2 separate regions of the Homo sapiens genome follow, and region 1 is linked to region 2. The links are contacts of gene promoters, found by promoter capture Hi-C in blood cells and fetal thymus (Javierre and others, 2016). All regions are on one chromosome and are shown on one strand. Each heading gives the region's core, a stretch centred on a gene start or on the middle of the fragment in contact. The rest is flanking DNA. Distances are from core to core; before and after follow the strand shown.

The links. The method cuts DNA at HindIII sites, captures the fragments that hold promoters and counts their contacts. A CHiCAGO score of 5 or more calls a contact.
Region 1: a fragment that was not itself captured here is called in contact with the fragment with the promoter of MBNL2 in region 2 in 1 of 17 cell types (fetal thymus); the score reaches 5.0 in fetal thymus.

Annotation. Positions count from the first base shown.
Region 1 is chr13:99,501,822-99,507,164 of GRCh38, reverse strand. The region is part of intron 1 of TM9SF2 (transmembrane 9 superfamily member 2); the gene reads right to left. Among named protein-coding and RNA genes, the nearest start is that of TM9SF2, 3.0 kb to the right of the region's middle. RefSeq lists an enhancer at 5,313-5,343. The HindIII fragment of the contact is 228 bases long and covers 3,865-4,092 here.
Region 2 is chr13:97,221,083-97,226,777 of GRCh38, reverse strand. It overlaps MBNL2 (muscleblind like splicing regulator 2), which reads right to left and starts at 4,445. Exons shown (of 9, transcript NM_001382683.1): 1 at 4,247-4,445. RefSeq lists an enhancer at 4,364-4,423. The HindIII fragment of the contact is 4,024 bases long and covers 4,072-5,695 here.

The DNA of each region.
Region 1 (5,343 bases), core at 2,729-5,228, 2.3 Mb before region 2:
TGAGACAGCTACTAAATCTTATTGAGCTTCTGTTTCCTCATCTAAATATCACAGAGATGTTATGAAATTTAGCTAAGGCATATACAACACACACAAATCGTAGTCTTTACCATTATTATTAGCAAAGGGCAATAAACAGGTTTGAAAAGTGAGAAGAGGAGCAAAAAGAGAAAAAATTCACAAATTTCCTCCAAAGCCTTTCATAGATAGTTAATTTTAATGAAAATAGAATGAAATTGTTGGATACATGTAAAGCAGCTAAAATTAACTACAAAACTTACTGAGAGACCATGGTGACAGGAAGCTACAGGAGAGAATAGGGAAGTAAGGGTTTGGGCAGCTGGGCTCTAAGGCTGACAGTGCACAGACCAATCTCTGTAGTGCCGATGTGTGTCTGTGTGTTTGTGTTGGGGGTGTGAGGTGTGGAACATATATCTGTGATTTGTTTCAGACGTTCCAGTTTACACCTTTGGAAGTTCAAGTTTACACCCACTTTGGTGAGGGGCCACAGGCAGAAAGACACAATTTTATTCATAGACTTTTGTTGCTTTCTTGATTCTAACTCTCAGATTCACTATAATGAACAATTACAGTCTTAATTTTACTTAAAAATCTAATTTCTGAAAGGCAAACTATCTCAGTTTAACATACCTTTTCAGAAGAAGAAGAAACAATTGCTGGAATGTATATTTACCATAGTCAAAGTAAGTCCTTCCAGTGCCAGATTTCAGATTTGAAAGAGCAACACCCAAACACTAATGAGTTCCCAGAAGCTAAGAATCAATGCTCTTATTCCAGAGAGAACTGTGAGAATGTGAAACTACATATCGATAAATATTTATCACTATACCAATAAATACACATACAGATTTTTTTTCTTTAAGTATTTCAAAATCTTCAAACTACTTCTATGGTCAAATTAAAACAGGTACATATATATTCATTCTGTGTCCGTTCAGATCAACATTCAGGACTATTTTCTTAAAGCTGACTCATTCCAATATTTATACACAACTGCTCCCAGAATAACAAACACAACTTATAAAATGCTTCTAAAAATAACTACCAAGAAAGGAAAGTATGACTGAGTAATTTTCCTTTTTATTAAAAAGTTGTTAAACTAATTCATTTAAACATTGTTTTTAACCACTAGGGGGTATAATTGGTCATTTTTCCTTACAGCAAAGGAAAAAAAATCTTAATCTTTCATCTAAGAACGTGATCTATCCATCAAACAGTAAAAAAGTGGCAGACATTTTGGAGAATTAATACTATTTTTAGTTCTTAGTTCTGAATTCTGGTTGACAACCCAGTAATTACTTGAAAGTTGAAAGCAGCAAAGGTGAACTGCTCACTAATCTTCACCTCTTAGCCATCAGAATGCCACTCGGCACACTAAGATTTGATTTAAAGCTAAAAAGCACAAAGCTAACTGAAATAGTCAAAACTTTTACAAACTAAATTAGAACTGTGGATTTTATCCTGGAATATCTAGTCACTTATAATCAGGGCTTTATTCTACTTATTTCAGTCACACAGTGTCCCTTGATTTTAAGAAAGTAAAGTGAATTCTACAGGAAAGGAATACCATAGCTCAATCTTTTATTACTATGGTTTCAAAACGTAACAAAATAAGGCAAATAAAAGAAAAATATTAAAAGACACAGAAATTTCAATAGCAATGAAAGTAAAACATTTAAAAAGTGTACAGGCTGGGCGTGGTGGCTCACGCCTACAATCCCAACACTTTGGGAGGCTGAAGTGGGTGAATCACCTGAGAGCTCAGGAGTTCGAGACAAGCCTGGCCAACGTGGTGAAACCCCATCTCTACTAAAAATACAAAAATTAGCCGGGCATGGTGGCAGGCGCCTGTAATCCCAGCTACTCAGGGGGCTGAGGCAGGATAATTGCTTAAACTCAGGAGGTGGAGGTTACAGTGAGCCAAGATCGTGCCACTGCACTCCGGCCTGGGTGATAAGAGCAAAACTCCGTCTCAAAAAAAAAAAAAAAAAGTCTTAGGGACCATCACATCACTATTAAATTGATAAATAAAAATTAAAATGATGTGGCAACACAAGGTATTATTTAGTTAAAGGAAATCAAACCTATCATTGTTGAAAGAAATCTGGCAATACTAAACAGAACTAAAAACTTCTTCTTGTCTTTACCTAGAATTTTATATTTGGGGATATGCAAATAATTACTGCTAAATACACTGTAGCAAAGCTATTCATAATAGAGAAAAATTGGGCCCAATCTAAAGGCCCTACAAGTAAGAATGGTCAGGCAAACCACAGATTGTACAGGAACAGAATGAAATAGTATCGGCTATAAAAAGCAATAAGAATGTGCACCTCCTCAATATCCAAATGCACGCACATGTAAAATAAGTTAAAAAAAGGAGGCCATGAAAACATACTCACAGTATCTATGAAGGCTAAGAAAATTAATCAGAAGTTACAGCAATATAAATAGAATTTTATATTCACTGGACTCCTGTTTCTCTGCCAGTAAATTCAACATAAGATAATTTTTAAAGAGAGAAAATTACTAAATCCTCAGCATTCTTCTGATTCTCTCTCAATTTACATCCTGAGCTAAATGCATGAGACAAACTTTACAGTACATAAAAACACTCTACTACCTAAATTATATATAAGTTGAAGATATATTTGTTTCATCTCTACACTATCACAACAATGACAAATATTGCACTTTTCCTCTAAGAAATGCAAAATACCTTTCAAGGGGAATATGTCATAATCAAATATGATTATCCCTATTTTACAGATGGAAAAACTGTTGGTAACAGTATCAATGACCTGCCCAATTTCTCCAACTTCAGATTCACTAACTTAACAGCATCTTTTGGAAAAAATTATTTCCATTTCACAACTCTCATTTCTAATTTTTAAAAGAAGTTCCTTCCACTTTTCTGAATAATGTGTACAAGACTGTCCTCCTTAACAAATACGAAATAGATGAGAATAAATTATTAACATCCTGATTGAAGTAATACAAATTTCAACTGTTTACTGTTATTTATAGCATCTTCTTTGAAAGGCAAAGAAAATAAATATTAAAGTGTATTTCAAATTCTCTACACCAGTTAGTCATATCGCAGGAAAAAAGCTGAAAGTACACCCTCCTGCTCTTCTAAGAGTTGTTTCCATTAACCAGATGTGAGTGTAGCTGGCAATAAAGATAAAAATCCAAACATTTCGGAAAAATGATCTGCTCTGCCTGTTTTATCCCTATACCTATGAAAATTAAACATCCAAAATGACTCCCAAGATTAACTAAAAAATAACTAGAATACAACCTAGCCACTTACCAAAGGACCTGTTGAGAAAACAATCATCTAACTGGAAGACCACCTATAAGTTTCACTTATTCATTTTCTAAGTCCATCTCAAATGTCACTTCTTCTTCTTTTTTTTTTTTTTTTTTTTTTTGAGACAAAGTCTCGCTCTGTTGCCCAGGCTGGAGTGCAATGGCGCGATCTCAGCTCACTGCAACCTCCACCTCCAGAGTTCAAGCGATTCTTCCTGCCTCAGCCTCCCGAGTAGCTGGGATTACAGATGCCCGCCACCACGCCCAGCTAATTTTTGTATTTTTAGTAGAGACGCGGTTTCACCATATTGGCCAGGCTGGTCTTAAACTCCTGACTTCAGGTGATCCACCCGCCTCGGCCTCCCAATGTGTTGGGATTACAGGCGTGAGCCACCACACCTGGCCCTGTCACTTCTTCTATAGAGCTTTCCCTAAAGACTCTAGTCCACTGATGTTTCCTCATTTTGTTTTAGCACACTTTGGACATCATCCTGTGTAACAGATCAGATTTCAATAATCTGTTCATAAGCTTATGTCCCTTACTTTGAGGTTCCCAGAGGGCAGGAAATATATTTTTCATCTTTGAGGCACTAGGAATAGAATATACAACTGCTGTTAAAGTAAGACCAAACACTAGGCCTTAAAGGTTGGTTACTAAAATATTTAATGGAAAAACCAGTGTACTTGCAAGTCTAGATCTTCCACTTGGAAGCACAACAACAGTCTTTCAGTCAGAATCCTCAAAAAGGAGTGAAAGCTTCTTGCACTGCAGAGTATGAACTTAAGTACTGAAACACTAACTGCAGACTTGAGTAAACCTTAAATATCCTTAGATATTTTTTCAGATACAAGGTTTTGCACAGATGTATAAACATGTCATTCAAGATAGCTGACAACCTAAAAAGAAACTGCAAAATGTTATGAAAAATTTAAAGCTTATCTAATGCCCTAAAATAACCTCAAAATTCACAGCTATAGTAAAGCTAACTGTAATAAACACCAGCTTAAAAAAATCAAACTTAATAAATAAGCCTATTTATAGATTGTAAACGTTTGTTGAACGATTATTTGAATTGTTGAAATCATTAAAGGTTTCAAAGAGATCCTCATCCCCCAAATGTTAAGTTTTAAATAAACTTAACGAAATAATTGTGTATGTATACTGTAAAGCCCTACACCATATAACCTAAAAGCAGGTTACTTTATTTACGCCTCTTTTACTAGCAATTAAACTGAAAACCTTGAGTGTGAATGTTGTAAGAGATCAAAGTTTTCAAGACTTGCCCTAGGAAAACACCAGTTTCTCCCACCATTTGCCCCTTTTAAGTGTTTAAAACCATCTCAGAGAAAATAGTGAGACCTCGTATCTTTTTTTGTGTATTAAAATCTTTTACACTTAAAACTCAGAAATCAAGTGCCTCAACCATTACAGCAACTCTTTATTAATGCACTTTGTGTGGCTCTGGGTGTTATACTCCACAAATAAGGAACCAACTTCTAATTGTGAAGCGAGATATCAAAGTCCTAGAAAGAACAAGCTCTCCTAACCAACTAGAAGGTTCCAGGAAAATGCAATTAAACAGGAAGCAATGAAGTTAAAAGCTAATGGAAACTGTTAACTAGGCTGAGTGTTGCTCACATGTAGGGAGTCGGTCACCCGCTTCCTCAGCGTACATGTTACAGGGCTGTGAGCGAACACTCACGCGTGGACCTGCATACATCCAACTCCAAAGCTCTGAGGCGTGAAGCCCAACTCCAAGGGCGCTCCACACGGTCCCTGTTCCAGGAAAACTGAATACAGCTGCTCGTGCCACTTGGCCCGCAAGACGGGAGGCGAGTCTGAGGCCCACTGCGTCCTCCAGAAACTACCCTTGCAAGGGCTGTTTCAGAGCCCCCCACCCACAGCCCAGCAGACCCCAAAAGCTTCTGGGGAAACTCAACCCCACCCGCTGCTACGCCCCCTTCCCTCGCTCCCACCCGAGGATCAGCTCCCCCGGATAGGGACGACTT
Region 2 (5,695 bases), core at 3,196-5,695:
TATTTTGATTTTTTTTTGCACCATTCTTATCTATCTATTGCTCATCTGACATCTTTATATGTTATTTAAACAGTACTTATCTGGAGAAATATAACAGAGGTCAAGAAAGTACATACATACAGATACCTAAAACTCAAAAGTCCATCTCTTGTTCTCCCCCAATCACTAAAACTGCCCCAAGCCTAAAATTAATCTGATGGTTAACAATGCTAAATTAATATTAGCCAATAAAGTTATTCAAGTCTTTGAAACTTACAATTTTGCATCATTTATTTTTGTACACACACACAAAGGCAGGTATTAGGTTACTGAGTTGGGTTTCTCACCAAATAGCAAAAGCCAGGGAAGCCCAGAGGTGTTTAATAAACACTTGTTGACTGATTGATGGAATATACTACCTAGTATAATTCAGACAATGCATTCTTTGTCAAAACACTAAGGTAAATTATTGAGTCCACTTTTATTACCAAGCGTTTCTGCTGTATTGAGGAGGGCAGGCCAGCCCAAAACTCGTCCATCAGCCTCAGAGCTCAGGTTTACAAAAGAAACCCTTAGGCCTTACCTTTCACACCTGTTTTTACTCTCAGCAGAGGAGGCCGGGACTGGTCTCCATAAACAACTGTGTAGTTGGAGCCGTGCAGTCGGAGGCCCAGGCCTGATGCAGACCCAGCCACGCAGCACCTTTGGCTCTTTACTACGAATATTATCACGGCTGCAACAAATAGTTTGTGCACATTTTTTAAAAGAAAAAAAAAACTGAGAAGAGTATAAAACTGGAGAAAAAAAAATAGTATGTTAACTAATTTACAAAGCCCGGTTAAGTCTTCCTGCCTCATTCTTCTGAGAGAAACCAAAGCATTAAAATATCAAGCTCTTTGCTCTCCCCAGCAGTGGACATCCATGCTCATCCAGTTGAGTCGACCCTTCCGGAAAGGATGCCTGGGCCCATGACACCTTTACTTCTCTTTGCAGCTATTTCCTGCCTTTCTTTGCTAGGCCTTTAGCTTGGGTCTTGAGCAGATTTCGTGAACAGGGCGAACTGTCCTCTCCTGTTCTGCCATGCCCCAGGGATCTGTGCTTGCCTGGCCTGACTCTTGACCTGCAGCTCTCTCTGGGCTTTCTTGCTTGTTGATTTTTATGCCCACACCTCCCTACCTTTTTATAACCCCCTTTATCTCCACTGCCCACCTGCCCCCTAGAGTTGCCAGGTTTCTCTGCTTGGCACAACCCAGCCAGCTCTGACATGTAGCTGTACCTGAAGATGGTAAAGGCCCCCAAAACTATGTTTTCAACAACCAACATGTCTTGTAGTTATCCACCTTTTCCCGAATCAGAATCCTTCACCCCTTGCAATGTTGCCAACCTATTTCTATGTTGATAATCTGTTTTGTCATTTTGGAAATGTAAACAAATCAGTATACCTTCCTTTTCATCTTTTTCTTGTTATCGGTAGGAAAGTACAGGAAAAAAGGAAGAGAAAATGCATGAGAGATTGAACCTACTTATTCTACTATAAGGAATTCTCTTAAGCTCAGCATCTAAATCCTCTTTTCCCAATTCTTGCTTGGAATCTTGAGTACCTGATCTTGAATTTCTATGGCACTCCCTGAGCGCGGGACTGGCTGGTAGCCATGTGATATTGATTTGTTTTCACCATAGCAACAGCAAATTGAAACAACTAGCAGAGAGAAGGCAGGCTGTTAACCAGTAAAGCTACCTAACCAGTATATTTCACAAGCATATTTTTCTCCTTCCCTCTTGTTTTTTCTCTTATTTACTCCACTTTCACAAATTTAACACAAAAGTCAAAGGAAAAACAGCATTAAATGTTTTGGGCACTACAAGGCCTGTGGCCAGAATAGTGTGCTTTGCAGAGCTTCTAGTATATTAGATTAGATCGATGGAAAAAATGCAAACAACAACGCTTTGATTTCCTTGGAAATTTCATTTGTTGAACTAAGAAAAAGTATCCCTAAAAAATTTACATGAGCACAAAGTAGAGTGAAGGGTTTTGTGTATATGACTATGTATCTTAATACTCTAAGGTGTTTGCCAACAGTTTCTTAATACCGAGGTTTTATCCCTTTGTACTTTAAATAGCTCAATGTGCCAAGAGACAAACAACTTTTTTTTTTTTTTTTTTTTTTTTGGTAAAAGGTCAAGGTCTCAAAATGCTAAATGATGAGGGAAAGTGTAGCAAGTATGATTCAATTCTATTAAAAGACAGAAAAATCAAGGTAGGCACTTGCTCAAAACTACGTGAGTAGTCAGAGAGGAGACACAAATTAGCTTTGGGAACTCCCGAGAACTCCAATGTGCTCCAGTCAAAATCTTTTTTAAAAGGTTCCTTTGTAAACATTACCCTTCCCCCGATCTCTGTGACCAAGGTTGCCACCTGTGACATGGATTTGCAGCCTGCAGTATTGTACTTCCCCTGCTTGGGGCCATCTGTGCTAGGACATGATGATTTTTCTATGAAAGCAGCTGTTCTCACCATCACAACCAGCCTTGAACTTGGTGGCACAACCTGGATCCTAAATAGTGGCTCTGGAGCAACTGGGAATAGGGCCCCGGGGACCATCCACCCAGGTGGCAGCGCTGGGCTGCACCAAGGGGGAGTCAGGCCAGAAAAAAAGCTTTGCCCTGCTCCCTGCTGCTTTTTGCCAGCCCAGCCAGAAGCCCTGCAGAAAACCTGTGCTGACCGGCCCGACATGTGGCAGGTACAAGAAGATGCCCTATTTATGAGGGGACAGGTTTACAATTTACAAAAGACAGGCGAAAATATAAAGACATAACTTAAGTCCTGCCAGTGGGGAGTTAGAATGTTCCTGGCCAGGACATAAAGAAATATTCCTCTCCACAAGCTCGAATAAAGGAACACACAGCAGAAATAGTTGGGGGATGACGTCAGAAGTTCTGGGCTAGTGTCCTGCACTTCTCCTTGAAAGTAAAAACAGTGGGTCTAGAAGAATCTACGTGGCATTGCCCTTATTTAAATGAGTAGTTCTACTGCTCCTTGCAAAACAAGTAGGATAGCTGAAGAAACTTCCTCTTATTTAAAGATTATAAGAATGTTCCCCCTGCCTTTTTTAAAAACCTTATTGTCCCCAAAACACACACATTACCCAATTAACAAATAGCTTTCCACTTAACCTTTGTCTTTTAAAGGGACAGTAATGTTTCTTGTAGAACATTCAAGGTGGTGGTGGTTAGGCAAGTCAGATTTTTTTCTTCGCTTCAGTGCTTGCTAACTATTCTAAAAATGTTACACATTTATTGTAAACACATGCTTCCGAGGCCTAACAAAAAAGCACAGTTTCCTCATGCCTGGCAGAAATTTAAAACGGAAAAGGGCAGAAAGAATTCTTTAGCAAATATATCCTTTCCTTCTCCTGGGCCAAGTGTGTTAAAAATAAATCTTCTCCATCATTTCTCACTGCTGCTTCTCAGCGAGAAAGTTGATATGGTTCGGCATAGTGAAAACACAGCTTTAAAAGCTAGCCTGCCCTCATTAAATTATTCTGCTGGCTGTGTGTTCTCATTAAAAATGCATAAAGATCAGATAATTGCAGTAAGCATTATTAACCCAGCTTTACTTTTGAATATAATGGTTCCACTTTTAAGCTGGAAACAAAGGCTCAGACATGCCAGGAAAAGAAATGTAAACATTGAACTACAGTATCGAAAACTTGCCAGAAAGCTACCTCTTGCTAGGTTGTTTAAAATGTGCTTTTGAAACTCAATTAAAGCTGTAGCATTGTAGAGCTAGGTAGGTCCCTAATTTTTAATAAATAGACACATACGTTTGGCCAAACATTCAACCGATGATTATTTACCATGAATTTTTTTTTAATCCTTAATTGCAAGTCTGTTTTCAAATAATAGGATCCATGTAAACTTTATCTATTTGGGAACTAGCTATGGCAATATAACAATTTTTCACAGCAAGAAAATAAGATTGCTCCAAAGAATTCAAATGGTTTTTAAAAAATAATATAATAAATGAATCGATTCTTTGCATAAAAACTCGATTTCTTGCCTCACCCCAAACAGGCGGCATAGATTCAAGCTTTGCCATTTCTTTTTCTCAAATCAAAATGTTACGTAAAACTCCAGGGTCCCCCGCAAGTATTACAATTGAATTAGTGGAATCCAGTTTCCCTGGCTCCCGTAAGCAGCACACATGGAATGCAGCATACTGCAGCAAACTCTTTAAACATTCAAAAAAGGGGGGCGATTCTCCTACCTTGTTTAGCTCTGCCTGTCCTTCCCATTTACAGTAACCCCAGGAACATCTGGCAGAACCAAGTGGCCGAGGCTTCTCCACCGCATCATGAGAAAGAAACTTCCATGTAAATAGTTCTCATTCCCTGTTTATTGTACTCTGAAAGCCGTCTGCCGTATCTGGAAAATTTTACCTTCAGATGATGAAGCAAAGACAGTCTAAACTCTGTTGCTGTAAGCTGCAGCCCTTCCTTCCGACAAATCCCTCCCAGCCGGGGCCAGCCAATCCCCAGCCAGCTCGTCAGCCCTACTCGTCTGAAACTGGCCCTAATAGGATGACTGACACAGTAACACAGCACTTGCAGTGTGTAAAAACAGTGCATCCATACTGATGAAAGAGGAATTTCCCTCTCAGAAGAAAGCAATCATAGCACCAAGACAAAGTGGCACATAATTGGCAGAGCAGAGAGAGGGGTAGCTCAAGAAAACACCCTTGAAGACAGCCAGCTCGAAGCCAGGAGCTTCACCGTGAACACTTGGGAAAATGTGAAACTCCGCAGATTCCAAAGAAATCCAGGTTGTACATGAAACTGAAGTCCTTGGACTATCTGACAAAGCATATGTATATGTTTTTTAAAGGAAAAATAATTCAACGTCTGCCATGGCAGTTAATACCTTACAAAACATTTACATATTTCCATTATTGAGGAAGAATGTGCTAGCCCAAGTGCGTATTCAAAATCAAAACATGCTTATAGCTCTGGCACACACAGGTTTCCTGTATAACATCTGTTATTGCAGTGGTTAATTACTGCGGCCCATTTATCTTTCGTCTAAGTTTTCAGACCACTTGGGACTTCGATTAGGGAATGCTGGACAATAAAATTGATATCTATACACTACCCTTTTCTACTCTTGGCAGGCACCCACGAGAGGATTAGGTGTGCTTTAACCATCTTAGATGCCATTTGATAAATACTGTGCATTGGCTCACATTATCGTTAATGAAGCAATGATTATAGGAAGATGTTTACTGTTGAATACAAGGGGTACATGATCCAAGGGCCCCCATGAGGTGCCATTCCACAAAAGATGTTCTAGGAGGTGCTGGAGTTTCCTGAGATAAAGCAGAAGAAGAGAAAGTTTAGGAAGGGTTATTTATTTATTTATTTATTTATTTATTTCCCAGTCTACAGCATTTCTGTATGCCTTGAAAACAAAAACTCAAAAACATATGGCATTGAGCAAACACAACAAGCATACATTTTCCTCCCCTAAATACCACATTTTGAGAAAAAAAAAGTATGATGATTACATGATGAGACCAAGACAGAACAAAGCCTTTATTCATCTGAAAGGTTGAACCCAATGCACGATTTTTATAAGCAACTGTTCAGCGCATCTGTAATGAAGCAACAGAATGCAATGGAATGCTTTCTTTTTATTTTGCCATTGCATCTTAAAAACATAA